Linked DNA regions of Homo sapiens: regions 1 and 2 are each linked to region 3. The links are contacts of gene promoters, found by promoter capture Hi-C in human tissues and cell types (Jung and others, 2019). All regions are on one chromosome and are shown on one strand. Each heading gives the region's core, a stretch centred on a gene start or on the middle of the fragment in contact. The rest is flanking DNA. Distances are from core to core; before and after follow the strand shown.

The links. The method cuts DNA at HindIII sites, captures the fragments that hold promoters and counts their contacts. A contact is called where the count stands out against the background at its distance.
Region 1: a fragment that was not itself captured here is called in contact with the fragment with the promoter of RNF213 in region 3 in 2 of the 25 tissues and cell types used here (H1 embryonic stem cells and dorsolateral prefrontal cortex).
Region 2: a fragment that was not itself captured here is called in contact with the fragment with the promoter of RNF213 in region 3 in 1 of the 25 tissues and cell types used here (dorsolateral prefrontal cortex).

The regions. Positions count from the first base shown.
Region 1 is chr17:80,854,387-80,858,550 of GRCh38, forward strand. It overlaps RPTOR (regulatory associated protein of MTOR complex 1), which reads left to right. Exons shown (of 34, transcript NM_020761.3): 12 at 1,078-1,161; 13 at 3,404-3,514. Among named protein-coding and RNA genes, the nearest start is that of CHMP6, 140 kb to the right of the region's middle. RefSeq lists enhancers at 859-1,390, 1,391-1,921, 1,584-2,783, 2,103-2,397, 2,134-2,283 and 3 more. The HindIII fragment of the contact is 6,292 bases long and covers 1-4,164 here.
Region 2 is chr17:80,909,662-80,914,133 of GRCh38, forward strand. All of the region lies in intron 21 of RPTOR (regulatory associated protein of MTOR complex 1), which reads left to right. Among named protein-coding and RNA genes, the nearest start is that of CHMP6, 80 kb to the right of the region's middle. RefSeq lists enhancers at 731-960, 1,081-1,270, 2,039-2,088. The HindIII fragment of the contact is 4,245 bases long and covers 317-4,472 here.
Region 3 is chr17:80,258,268-80,262,500 of GRCh38, forward strand. RNF213 (ring finger protein 213) reads left to right here and starts at 2,585. Exons shown (of 68, transcript NM_001256071.3): 1 at 2,585-2,635. RefSeq lists silencers at 1,964-2,313, 2,593-2,942, 3,323-3,462. The HindIII fragment of the contact is 8,363 bases long and covers 1-4,233 here.

The sequences.
Region 1 (4,164 bases), core at 330-2,829, 600 kb after region 3:
GCGCTGCTGGGTGACCAGCTCAGGCAGCAGGAAGCTGGTGCCCACGTGCGTGCCGTCGAGAGTGTGAGTGGGTTCAGCCTCAGGGTCATTTGGTAACTTAAGTATATATGCTCCGACCTTACCTTTTTAATACTCACATTTATCTTAGTGGAAAAGAATCATGTACATGTGCCGATGTACCCATTAGGATATTGATCACAATCTTCTTTATCAGAGCAGCATTTTGGCCAGGCATGATGGCCCACGCCTGTAATCCCTACACTTCGGGAGGCTGAAGCGGGAGGGTTGCTTGAGCCAGAAGTTCAAGACCTGCATGGGCAATGTAGTGAGACCCCCATCTCTATAAAAAATACAAAAATTAACCAGGCATGGTGGTACATACCTGCGGTCCTAGCTACTCAGGGTTTGAGGTGGGAGGATCACTTGAGTCCAGGAGGTTGAGGCTGCAGTGAGCCATGATCTGGCATCTATACTCTAGCTTGGGCAACAGAGCAAGACCCTATCTCAAAAATAAATAAATAAAAATGGTAAAAGTAGGAACATTTTGATGATAATTTAAATATCTATCACTGGGGAAGTTGTTTAAAAGAATTGTGTACATTTGCATAACGGAAGTACTGTGCCGCCTTTGGGAATAATATGGTCAGTACATACCTACTGATATGAACAATGTTCACAGTGCATTGTTTAGTTTAAAAAGGAGCTGAGAAATAGAATCACATATTATCTAGTTCAAGATCAGTAAGAGAAGTGTGGACATAAAGAACAATGTCTGAGTTCATATACCTAAATGTCACCAGTGGGTTAGCTTTTTAAATGCAATTAAAGCATGTTTGTTCTAGTATTTTCTACATTGAGCATCTTTTATCTGTGTAATAAAGGCATAAAGCGTGTTTTCTTCACCTGTCTAAAAGCATGAACTTGTAAGGAAAGGAGCACCAGCTCTAGGTAACTGAAGCAGCAGACAGATCTGAACTGTGGTCAGACCGCTCCAAAGCTGGCAGCTCATGCAGCAGCGTTTCGGGGTTGCACACCAGTATGGTTTGCAGTGATACCATTTTCTTCTTGTTCTTCCAGGTGCTGTTAAGCCAAGTGCACCGGCTGAGAGCATTGGACTTGCTTGGAAGATTTTTGGACCTGGGTCCCTGGGCAGTGAGCCTGGTGCGTGCCTTCCGCATTAACCTGGGGGCTGAGGGAGGTGGGACAGAGATTAGGCTCCGTGTTTCAGTCTGTGCACGTATTTCATGATCCAGAGCCACCCCCAGCCGTGAGACCCAGGGCGAGTGTGTCCACCGTGTTGGTGTCCTGTCACTCCTGAGGCCCTCAAGGAGCCCACTCTGTACCCGTGCAGCCTGCAGTGCTGCCTGGCGTTTGGGGGTCTGGGGTTGTCGCCCCTCTTTATGTCTGATGTTAGACATAGGAGTGAGTGTGTTGTCGGCCGGTCACCTTTTCCTGAGCCGCCCCCAGCGCTGCGGAGGAGCAGGGCGCCCCTGAGCCTGACGCAGCACCCACCTCGTGGTGCTGCTTCCCCCAGGAGGAGTCTGGATCCTCAGCACTGTCTGCTCACCATCATGGCAGGCACAATTCGGAAACGCTCTTCTGGTTCCTCATTCTATAGCAGAGTAGTAATGGCCACTAAAAACACCCTGGCAGAGGCAGGATCAAGAAGCGACGTGCGTTTAACAAATAACTCACAGGGAAAGTAAAAGGAGGCTGAGAGGGAACCACAGAGTCAAGGAAACTCGAGAGACCTATGGCCAGCTGCCATGTACAGTAAACCTTACTTGGTTCTGTTGAAGTTCCAAAAATGAATACTCATAAAACAATTAGAAATTTTACAGGTGCTGGATTTATGTTATTCAAGAATCATTGTTCGTTTTTCTTGGGTGTGGTAACTGGATCATGTTTTTATAAAAGAGACCTAATTTTTTAGAGATAGACACTGAATATTCACCAATGAAATCACATGACATATGAGCCTTAATTTACTGTGCTTGGGAGCGGTGCGGTGGGGCGGTGGGTGCGGAACCGCTGTCACTAGCTGGGTGGTGAGTACCTGGGTTTGGTGTATTTAAGTATTTTCATCAGATAATGTTGACAAAGAGTGGTAATTGATAGTCCAGCACTGAAGGACGAGAGAAAACATCCAAAACTTGGAAGAATCATTCAGCACTCACCACTGGGCCATTTTCACTCCAGGTGCCTGAGGCCACAAATAGCTTGTAACAGAGTCAGGGCCTGAGTCATCGGAGGAAGGCTGGCGTGACTCGGTCACTTGGTGTGTGCGTGGTGGTGTCGCTTAGTCATCCTGGAAAGGCCTGCGTGGTATTGCGTGCACTCTAAGAAGACAGGAAGCATGTATTCATAACAGTTTAGAAAGAGTTTCATTTTTAAGGTTAATTTTTTAAAACCAGTTTCTTCCCTTTAAAGAATTAAGCTTCTGCTCATTGGAAATTTGCCTAATACATGAATCGAGGCTGGATAAACGAGGTATTTTTACAGGTACAGATTTTGCCTCTCAGGTGAGGGCCCAGCCACCCGAACCAGAGAAACTGCTCATACCTTGTTAAATGTGGCCTTTCACAGGGAAGGGACCCAGGCCTAGGTCCCACCACCACCTCCTGTCTTGGTTACAGGGGACCTCACTTATTGGAAGGTGATACCTTTAGGATATCTTTGAAATTCCAGCAGCTTTGAGATAAGGACACAGCAGAAACCCCTGGCTGTGGAGTGCAGCAGTACTTTGCCAGGCATCCTCCACACTGCAGTGCCCTCCACGCCCTCCCTCCCCTGCCTCTGAGGGCAGAGAGTCCCCTGAGAATGACATGGCCAGAACTGGGCGCCAGTGAGCCCCTGGGCAACCCCCGCTCCTCCCTGCCTTTCCCAGGGCAGGCATCTTTCTCCCAAGGTGTATCTGAAGTGCAAACATGAGTGTTGAGCAAGCTGGCCGTGCCGTCACGGAGAGGTGGCCGTGGTGTCACGGAGAGGTGGCCATGCCGTCACGGAGAGGTGGCCGTGCCGTCACAGGTGGCCGTGGCTCGTACGTGAGCAACACAGTGAAGGTGCCTGATGCTCTGCTGCCAAGAGCAGACGAGGCCACTGAGGGCAGGCAAGGGCCCCAGGCGCAAGCAGCCTGCGCCTCCACAAGGAAAAGCTGCCACCCGATTCATTCCAGTCTCTTGACACCAGTCAAGGCTGGCAGTATGTGGCAGCTTCTAGGAATAAATCAGAGATGAATAAATCTGGAGGAAGCCCCTCTTTACTTTAAGTGAGGCCCATTCATTCCTGTTGCGTTTCCCATATGTGCTGAAGATAGCACCGCAGCTGGTCCCGCGTGGCACCCCTGCTGCTGCCCGTTCCCTTGCTGCGGCACAGGTGCGCTGACGCCCTCCCTCGCCCCCAGGCCTTGTCTGTCGGCATCTTCCCCTACGTGCTGAAGCTGCTCCAGAGCTCGGCCCGAGAGCTGCGGCCACTTCTCGTTTTCATCTGGGCCAAGATCCTCGCAGTGGACAGCGTGAGTATCCCCGCCCTCCTCCCCAGAGTGATGTGAACCTGCCGGCCCTTCTGGGGATGCCGAGCCCTGCGTTTCCAGCCTGCCCTTTCTCCAGCCTCGCTCCCTCTCCAGGCACCGCCGTTCCCTTCCTCTCTTCTGGGGTAAAGTGGGACGCGCCCGCCTCGGCAGCCACCTCTGGGTCGTGGGGGCTGTCACCTACCTGTCCTGTCCCTGGCCTTCCCCTGGTACCCTGCGCTCAGTCCCCCCACACCGTCCTGTCCCTGGCCTTCCCCTGGTGCCCTGCACTCAGTCCCCCTGCCTGTGTCTGACCCCCGTAAGGCTGTCCCCGTGCTCCTGACCCTGACTGGAAGCAACCCCGCCATGGCATAAACTTGGCCTCTGCCTCGCCCAGACCCCGCATTGGCTCTCCTGTGCCCACCATTGCATTTCTCCCCCTCCTCAACCCTGCACAGGTGGTCTGGGCCAGGCCCCGAGGTGTTAGGGGCCACCCCCTTACACGGGGCTGTCCAGCTCTGTCCTCTCTGACGGGCATCAGCCCTGGCCCTGCAGCCATGTGTTCGCCCCTCAATCATCTAGGCCAGGGACCCATATTTAGCTATGTTAAGAGAGACACAAGGTCAGCTGTCCCTGTCCCCAGCGGCTTATGCTTG
Region 2 (4,472 bases), core at 1,189-3,688, 650 kb after region 3:
CCCAGACTTTTCTTCCCTTTCTGATAGCAGTAATTTTTGACTCATTCAAAACCCTTCTAGTTAATGGTTTCTTATTCATGGCCATTCTAGCTCAAGGGAACTTTTCAAAGAATCAGTTTTTGGTTTCATTGGTTTTTCTCTGTTGTTTGTCCATTTTCCATTTGATTGATTGAGCTTTCATCAATAAAGCTTGCTTTCTTCTGCTTACTTTGAGTTTAATTTGCTCTTCTCATCCTAGTTTCTTAAGGTAGAAGCAGAGGTCATTGATTTTAGTCCTTTCTCTTTGGGGACTGTAAACTCTTCTCAGTCCCTTTTGTGAGCTCTGGGCATTTGGCCTACCGCCTTCCCGCTGTTTTTTCTCTGCCTCATGGGTTGTCACTCTACCCTTGAGCAGATGAATACTTAGTCAAAGACCCCAGGGGCCTCTCCTGCAGACCTTGGAAGCTTTCCCCTCTCCAGTGCTCTGTCCTGCAAATTGTCACCACCTCAGCCTCCCTGGAGCCCCAGTCTCTGTCTCCTGTTCCCTGAAAGTGCTGGGCTCCCCGTCTCTGCACTGTGGCCTGGGACTGCCTGAAACTACCTGCAAGCCGGACACAGGGCAGCTGTTTATTTCCGTTCTCTCAGGGATCACAAGCCCGTGACACCCAGCACCCAGTGTCCAAAAACAATTGTTTACGGTATTTGTCCTGGTTTTCTAGTTGCTTATGGAAGTTGGATGATTTATGTGGAATTAGAAGTCACTCATTATAGCACTTAAAAATTTTTTGGTAACTTTTTGATAAAACTTCAAAAGCTTACAGAAATGTTGCAGGAAGAATGCAGGGAAAGGCCACACTCTTGCAGCCTCTGTGGTGTTCTACGTCTTCATCTGACCTCGTCACGGCTATGGCGTTGCCTCGGGTATCACTCAGTGCCAGGGTCTGCAGGGTCGAGGAGCCACGGCTTCCCATCCTAGTCCATCGCTTTTTCCAAATGAGCTATCGAGTCTCCCCCTCTCATTTGCTGTGGCCTTCTGGGTCCTGGCCGGCCATCGAGCCAGGGTTCCTGCAGCTCCTCAGCTCCTTTTGCTGATATTATACTTCTGTGGCTTTCGGTTCCTTCAACTAAGTTATTTTCTGTTGGTCTAGTTATATCTTAGATGGAAATCACCTTACCGTCTGCAGTTGGTTCTTCTTCAGTTCTTTTTTTTTTTTTTTCTCTTGCTCTGTTGCCAGGCTGGAGTGCAGTGGCACAATCTCAGCTCACTGCAGCCTCCGCCTCCCAGGTTCAAGCAGTTCTGCTGCCTCAGCCTCCCAAGTAGCTGGGACTACAGGCGTGAGCCACCACACCCGGCTAATTTTTGTATTTTTAGGAGAGACGAGGGGTTTCACCGTGTTGGCCAGGATGGTCTCGGTCTCTTGACCTCGTGATCCGCCTGCCTCGGCCTCCCAAAGTGCTGGGATTACAGGCGTGAGCCACTGCGCCTGGCCTGTTCTTTATGGTATCACCGGTATAGTCACAAGTAGCCTATTGGCCAACTTGGAAAGGTCCAGATTGTTTAATTCTGCACCGGCCTCCCCTCCTGCAGCGGACTCTGCCACTTCCTTCGTCACCGCATCCCTGCAGCGGATTCTGCCACCTCCTTCGTCACCGTGTGGTGTGGCCAGCTGCACGGGCACCTGGAGACGTTCATCCCCAGGCAGCAGGCCATCTCCTCAGGTTTCTTTTATGTGCTACTGGCCTGTTGAAAATAGCCAGTCAATTAAGTTAATGTTTTCATTATGCGGTAAGAAAACTAAGAAATAATATAATTATTTGCTTTTAAACTAGGAATAAGATAAATACAAAAATAAACCTCAGGCTGGGTGTGGTGGCTCACACCTGTAATCCCAGCACTTTGGGAGGCCAAGGCGAGAGACGATCACTTGAGCCCAGGTGTTTTGAGACCAGCCTGGGAAACATAGTGAAACCCCGTCTCTACAAAATAGTAGCAAGTTAGCCGGGCACGGTGGCAAGCACTTGTGGTCGCAGCTACCCAGGAGGATGAGGCTGGAAGATCCCTTGAGCCCAGGAGCTCAAGGCTGCAGTGAGCTATGATTGTGCCACTGCACTTCATCCTGGGCGGCAGAGTGAGACCGTGTCTTTTAAAATAATGTTTAAAAATATATGTTTGTTACACATTATGGTCTGAGACCAAGAAGGGGAGGCAGTAAAGCAGACAGGAAGGAAATAAGGAAGAAAAGAAAGTCATAAGACTGCACAAACACCCCTGAGGAAACCACCCACGGAGGCCCCAGACCAGAGCAACCGGTCCCGAGGCCTCTCAGATGAGCTGACGCTCTGGAGGATTGGGACTGAAACCGTCACATCTGCCTGCTACGGATTAGGGAAAATCAGTTCTTACCACTTACCACTGCCCTTTTAGACTCTAAATAGCCTCTACCACTTTTAGTTTAAGATTTCAAGGTTGGGTTTTAAATAGCCGTTTTCACTAAAATAGTTGTAAAAGCTTTTTACGAACATTAATAAATGGTTTAAGTTTTTAGAATTGATGGCCAGTTCGCGTCTCTGCTGGCAGTTCTCTGACACACAGGAGTGTCTGGTGGCCTCTTCTTTTCTCTTGGAGGCACAGGATGGCTGTGGCCATGGACCACCCTTGCTCTGTCCTGACTGCACAGTTGGAGGCCAGCGCTATTTAGGAGGTTTGATCGTTTTCCCCCAATTAATTTAGCTTCTTGGGTATTTTGATCATGATGAAATCAGTATTCAGCCTATTTAAGTTTATTTTTCAGTGGCTTTTGTGTATTTAACCTTACTGAAAAATTAGCCTGAATTATTTTAAACTGTAATCCGAGTGCCTAATCTTGAAATATAAGGACTATTAAGTGCGTTCCTGTGGACCTGGCCTCCAGTTGTTAAATAGCTCCTCTTGGGAAGCTCTCGAGCCTGTGTAGCACAGAAGCCACTGCTCTCTGCTCTTCAGCAAACGTCCCAGCACAGCCTCCACAGCCCAGCGCCCTTTTGGATTGTGTGTGACATGTAGTGTAGCTGGACGGCCCGCCCCCCTCTCCCACCACGGTAAGGCAGTTAAGCACCTGCGTCTGCCTTTCATGTTAGCAGGTTATAGCAACTCGAACACACGGCTTTGTCGTGCTATCCGATTGAGACCCAGAAACCGCCATAAAAGTGGCATTTGCCTTCTGTGCCTGCTTTGCCGTTCTAGAATGACACAGAGACCTTAAGGCACATGGCCATCACTCCAGCAGACATGCCACAGCCAGAGGGGTGGAGAAGGTCAAGAGAAGGCCTCTGCTAGAGACCTTGCTATGCATAGCACAATGCAGCATGAGCTTGTGTGTGTGTGTCTGTGTGCGTGTGTGTGCACGCGTGTGTGTGTGTCTGAGTGTATATGTGTGTGGGTTTAAGAGTAAACATTGCTACTAAAGCATTTGGAAGCATAAATCTTTCTTGTCTTCATTTTAATTTCAAGAAATGCCTTATTTTCCTGCTCTAGGAACTGAAGGGATTACATTTCATTTTACAGAGAAACGAGCCTATTTTAGATATTTAACTCTGAAGCCAAATTTTTGTTCATCAGAGTCTAAAACAGCCTTATTACTATGGAATGCCCTGTAGAATTCTATATTCAAATACAGAAATTGCCACCAGCTCTGTATGAGAGAACCCACACAGCTCCAGAGCTGTGGTCTGATTTCATGTATTTATAATATATTTCGATTCCCATTCCATGGGCTTGGGGTTTTCATTTTGCTTTTAGCTCCCTTTTCTCTTGGTTTAGTTTTGGGGGTGTTGTTTGTTTGTTTTGTTTTGAGACAGGGTCTCACTCTATCACCCAGGCTGGAGTTCAGTGATCCAGTCACGGCTCACTGCAGCCTCGACCTCCTGGGCTCAAGCGATCCTCCCACCTCAGCCTCCCAAGTAGCTGGGACTACAGGGGCGCACCACCATGCCTAGCTAATTTTCGTATTTTTTGTAGAGATGGGGTTTCACCATGTTGCCCAGGCTGGTCTCAAACTCCTAGGCTCAAGTGATTCACCCACATTTCCCTCCCAAAATGCCAGGATTACAGGCATGAGCCACTGCACCTGGCCTGCTTTTAGGTTTTTTTAAGGAAAATTTCAGACTATGTAGAAGTAGAAAGAAGAGACTGATGCCCCTCAGGAGCCTGCCTGTGGCCCCAGCAGTTCTCACCTCAGTGGTTTTAGGACAATGCCAAGAAAGAACCTTCAAGCCACAGGTGGTCACCTGTCAGGGCACATGTTCTCATGATCACTGCTTATATTATAATTTATGAGAAAACGTGTGAGCATAAATGCACAAACTCACCTAGAAGCACCGCTGCAGCCTCTTGATACTGTGAAGAGTGTGTGTGCATGTGCGCTGGCCGCTGCCTCTGTTGCAGGACTCATGCATGCAGACGGAGATGAGAAAGGGGTGTACTTAACGAAAGGTCAAATTGATGGCAGTGGCAG
Region 3 (4,233 bases), core at 1,335-3,834:
GAGATAGGGGTGGGGCCATTTTATAGGATTTGGGTAGGTAGTGGAAAATTACAGTCAAAGGGGGTTGTTCTCTGGCTGGCAGGGGTGGGGGATACAAGGTGCTCAGTGGGCCAGGATGAGCCAGGAGAAGGAATTTCACAAGGTAATGTCATCAGTTAAGGCAGAAACAGGCCATTTTCACTTCTTTTATGATTCTTCAGTTACTTCAGGCCATCTGGATGTATACGTGCAGGTCACAGGGGATATGATGGCTTAGCTTGGGCTCAGAGGCCTGACACATGGCCTGTGACAGAGCCCTCAGGAGGCCCTGAGAACATGTGCCAAGGAGGTTGGGTGCAGCTTGGTTTATACATTTTAAGGAAGCGTCAGACATCAATCAAATGCATTTGAGAAATACATTGATTTGGTCCAGAAAGGCAGGAAAATTTGAAGCGGTGGGGGCAGGGGGCTTCCAGGCTGTAGGTAAATTTAAACATTTTCTGGTTTACAATTGGTTGAGTTTATCTAAAGACCTGGGATTAATAGTAAGGAAATGTTCAGGTTAAGATAGAACACCGTGCTGAGCAGCACTCCGGCCCAGCACTATTACGTGGGCAAGAGGCAAAGCTCCAAGGGCTTAGTGTACCTGCTGCAGCAGCTGGTAGGGGCAGACTGTGATCACAGAGACAGCACTGTCCCGCAGAAAAATCATGCAAGCCACCAACGTGAGCCATGCAAGTCATTTAAACATTTCGACTAGTCATACTGAAAAAGTCAAAAGAAACAGTTGAAATTAACTGTTTAGAGACAAAGTCTCACTCTGTCGCCAGGGCTGGAGTGCAGTGGTGCAGTCAAGATTGGTGGGAGGAAAAAGCAGGTTTTAATTGGAGACCCAGCAAAGCGAGAAGATGCCCAACTAGCGTTCTAAAGTGTCACCTTGGCTGGGCGCAGTGGCTCATGCCTGTAATTCCAGCACTTTGGGAGGCCAAGGCAGGTGGATCACCTGAGGTCAGGAGTTTGAGACCACCCTGGCCAACATGGAGAAACCCCGTCTCTACTAAAAATACAAAAATTAGCCAGGCTTGGTGGCGGGCGCTTGTAATCCCAGCTACTCGGGAGGCTGAGGCATGAGAATCACTTGAACTGGGAGGTGGAGTTTGCAGTGAGCCAAGATCACGCCACTGCACTCCAGCCTGGGGTATAGAGTGAGACTGTCTCCAAAAAACAAACAAACAATAAATAAAGTGCCACCCTAAAATTAAAAATTTATCCTCAGGTTTTGTGTGTTTGTTAGTTTTTGAGGCAAGATCTCACTTTGTCATCCAGGCTGGAGTGCAGTGGTATGATCACGACTCACTGCAGCCTGGAGCTCCCTGGGCTCAAACGATCCTCTTGCCTCAGCCTCTTCAGGTGCACCACCACGCCCAGCTAATTTTTTTAAATGATTTTTTTTGTAGAGATGGGGTCTCTCTATGTTGCCCAGGCTGCCATCGAGTTCTTCTAGGGAAACTTGCCGTGGGCACCGTGGGGAGTGGGGTAAGGGCAGGGTCTGTGTCTTGTTCCCATGGCTGTCGTGGGCAGTTGTCGGTTAGGAGGGGTGGCTGTCGAGGATGTTGGACTAATTGTTGGCGACCCCCCGCCCCAAGCAGGAGCATTCAGCTGGGGTTCCGCGCCGGGAATTGTTTCAGGATGAGGGTCCCCTCTGGAATGCGCAGAGGGGCGCAGTGTCCAGAGAGGGACGGGATGAAGGGGTGAGAGGAGAAGGAAGAAAAAGAAAGTGGGTGATTTTAAAACGGAGGTCCCTGGTCACACCATGAGCCTCACAGATGGGAAAACTGAGGCACGGGGGATGGTGCGGACCGCCGTGGCCCCTCCATCATCAGTGACAGAGCGCTCCGCGCGGGGCCGCGGAGGTCCCTTAATCTGCAAAGGCCCCCACGCGGCGCGCTGACGACGTCCACTGCACCCGCCGGGCGCCCTCTGGGCCGCTCCCAGGCTGGCCGCCGGCTCTGCGCGGCCGCAGACACTGTCCGAGGTGCTGGGCGCCGGGGCGGGGGGCGCGCCTGTCCCGCCCCACTCGGCTGCTCGGGCCTGCCCGGGGTCTGGGCTTCCGGGAGACCCGCATGCGCCCCACGCCTGGCGGGAACCGAGGCCCCTCCCGCGTCTGTACCCGGCGCGCAGCGGCCCGAGGCGCCTCCCGGGGGCTGGGGGCCCGGAGTCACTGGGAGGCGCCACCGGCGGGGAATTCCGCACACGCCTGCGCGGGGCCGGCGGCGGCGGCGGGCAGGGCGGGGCCGGCGGCGGCGGCGGCGGGCAGGGCGGGGCCGGCGGCGGCGGCGGCGGGCAGGGCGGGGCCGGCGGCGGCGGCGGCGGGCAGGGCGGGGCCGGCGGCGGCGGCGGCGGGCAGGGCGGGGCCGGCGGCGGCGGCGGCGGGCAGGGCGGGGCCGGCGGCGGCGGCGGCGGGCAGGGCGGGGCCGGCGGCGGCGGCGGCGGGCAGGGCGGGGCCGGCGGCGGCGGCGGCGGGCAGGGCGGGGCCGGCGGCGGCGGCGGCGGGCAGGGCGGGGCCGGCGGCGGCGGCGGCGGGCAGGGCGGGGCCCAGGGCCCCGTGACCCGAGGGGCGACAGCGCGCGGCAGGCGGCGAGCTCGGGGGCCGCAGGTGCGAGCGGGCCTGGAGAGTCTCCCGGGGCGGGGAGCGGGCTAGGATACAGTGGGCCCCGCGGGCCGGCGGGCCGGGTCCCGGGGAGCGGCGCCTGCGTCCGGATGCCCCTCCCGGCCGCCTCTTCCTGCCGGCTCCAAGTTTCGGTTTCGCCGCCGGGGTGCCCGGTCCAGCCCCGCCCGCGGCGCCCACTGACCCTGTTCCCCGGCTGCGGGAGGGGTCGGGGTGGGGGCAGCGGGCACGCCTGGGACCCCGGCGACATCCCCGGAGCGCAGAGCGCGGAGGAGGCTTTGCGCCCCGGCAGTGCTGCCCCCGGGAAGTGGCCGGGGCACGGGGGGTGTAGTGGAAGGGGACAGCCGGACCCGGGCCTGCAGGTCCGCCCGGGAATCCTGCGCCTGTACGAATGGCAACAACGGAAAAGTGAAGTTGCAAAAACAGACTCCTAACTTTTACGAGGGAGGCATCGCCCCGTCTGAACCGCACCGCGCAGCGTCCTTCCGACTTGGCGAAGTCGCCCGAGCGCGGGGCTCAAGGCCAGGGTGGGCACCCCTCCCGGATGGCTGCCTGCAAGCCGGCGGGCCGGGCCCTGGGGGAGTCCAGGGCGGGAGGGGAAGGAGCTGTGCAAACATGGTGGTGGCCCTTCCCTGCCCCCACCTTGTTGACTTTGGTTGTGGTTGGGGGATGGGCTTTGATTTGGGTGGCAGTGTCTGTGCTTGGGAAAAAATGTCAGAGAAAAGACAGGAAGCGGATTGAATGCAACAGTGTTGGGTGCCTGGGGCTCTCTCTTGTGTCTTCCGGCCCCTAGAGCAGATGGAACAATAAGATGCTTTAGGGGGCCGGGCGCAGTGGCTAATGCCTGTAATCCCAAAACTTTGGGAGGCCAAGGCGGGTGGGTCACCTGAGGTCGGGAGTTCGAGACCAGCCTGGCCAACATGAAACCCCGTTTCTACTAAAAACACAAAAAATTAGCCGGGTGTGGTGGCGCATGCCTGTAACTCCACCTACTTGGGAGACTGAGGCGGGAGAATCGCTAGAGCCCGGGAGGCGGAGGTTGCAGTGAGCTGAGATTGCCCACTGTACTCCAGCCTGGGTGAAACTGTCAAACAAACAAAAAATGCTTTTTGGAGGATTTTTCGAGTTTTCTGGTCTGTGGTTCCCCAGTGTAGCATTGGAGAAGGAAACACTTCGGGTGGAAAGAAAGAGGCCTGGGCGGTGGGGAGTCATTGAAGGTGTTTGAGGGAGGGAGTGTCCACTGGTGGTTGTTTCAGGTAGAGTGTGGAGGGGAGGAGGTACGGTGGGAGCCAGGGCTTGGCTGTGGCAGGGGTAGGGGAGTTTTAAACTCTCCTTCTACTCTGAAGGAGAGATAATTTTAGTCTCTGGAATAAAAGGGCAGCAGACCTGGAGAAAAGGGATGCAAATTGTCCCATACACCTATTGGGAACCTCATCAAAGAGAAGACTGCAGAAGACAGATGATTGATGTTTTTATGGCATTGGGACAGGGGCTTGGGGCTGGAGAGGGGAGGTGTGCAGGGTTGTCTTGTTGTGCAGATAATCACTCAGGTGATCTCAGAGCTGCTCTCAGAGGAACTGGCGAGG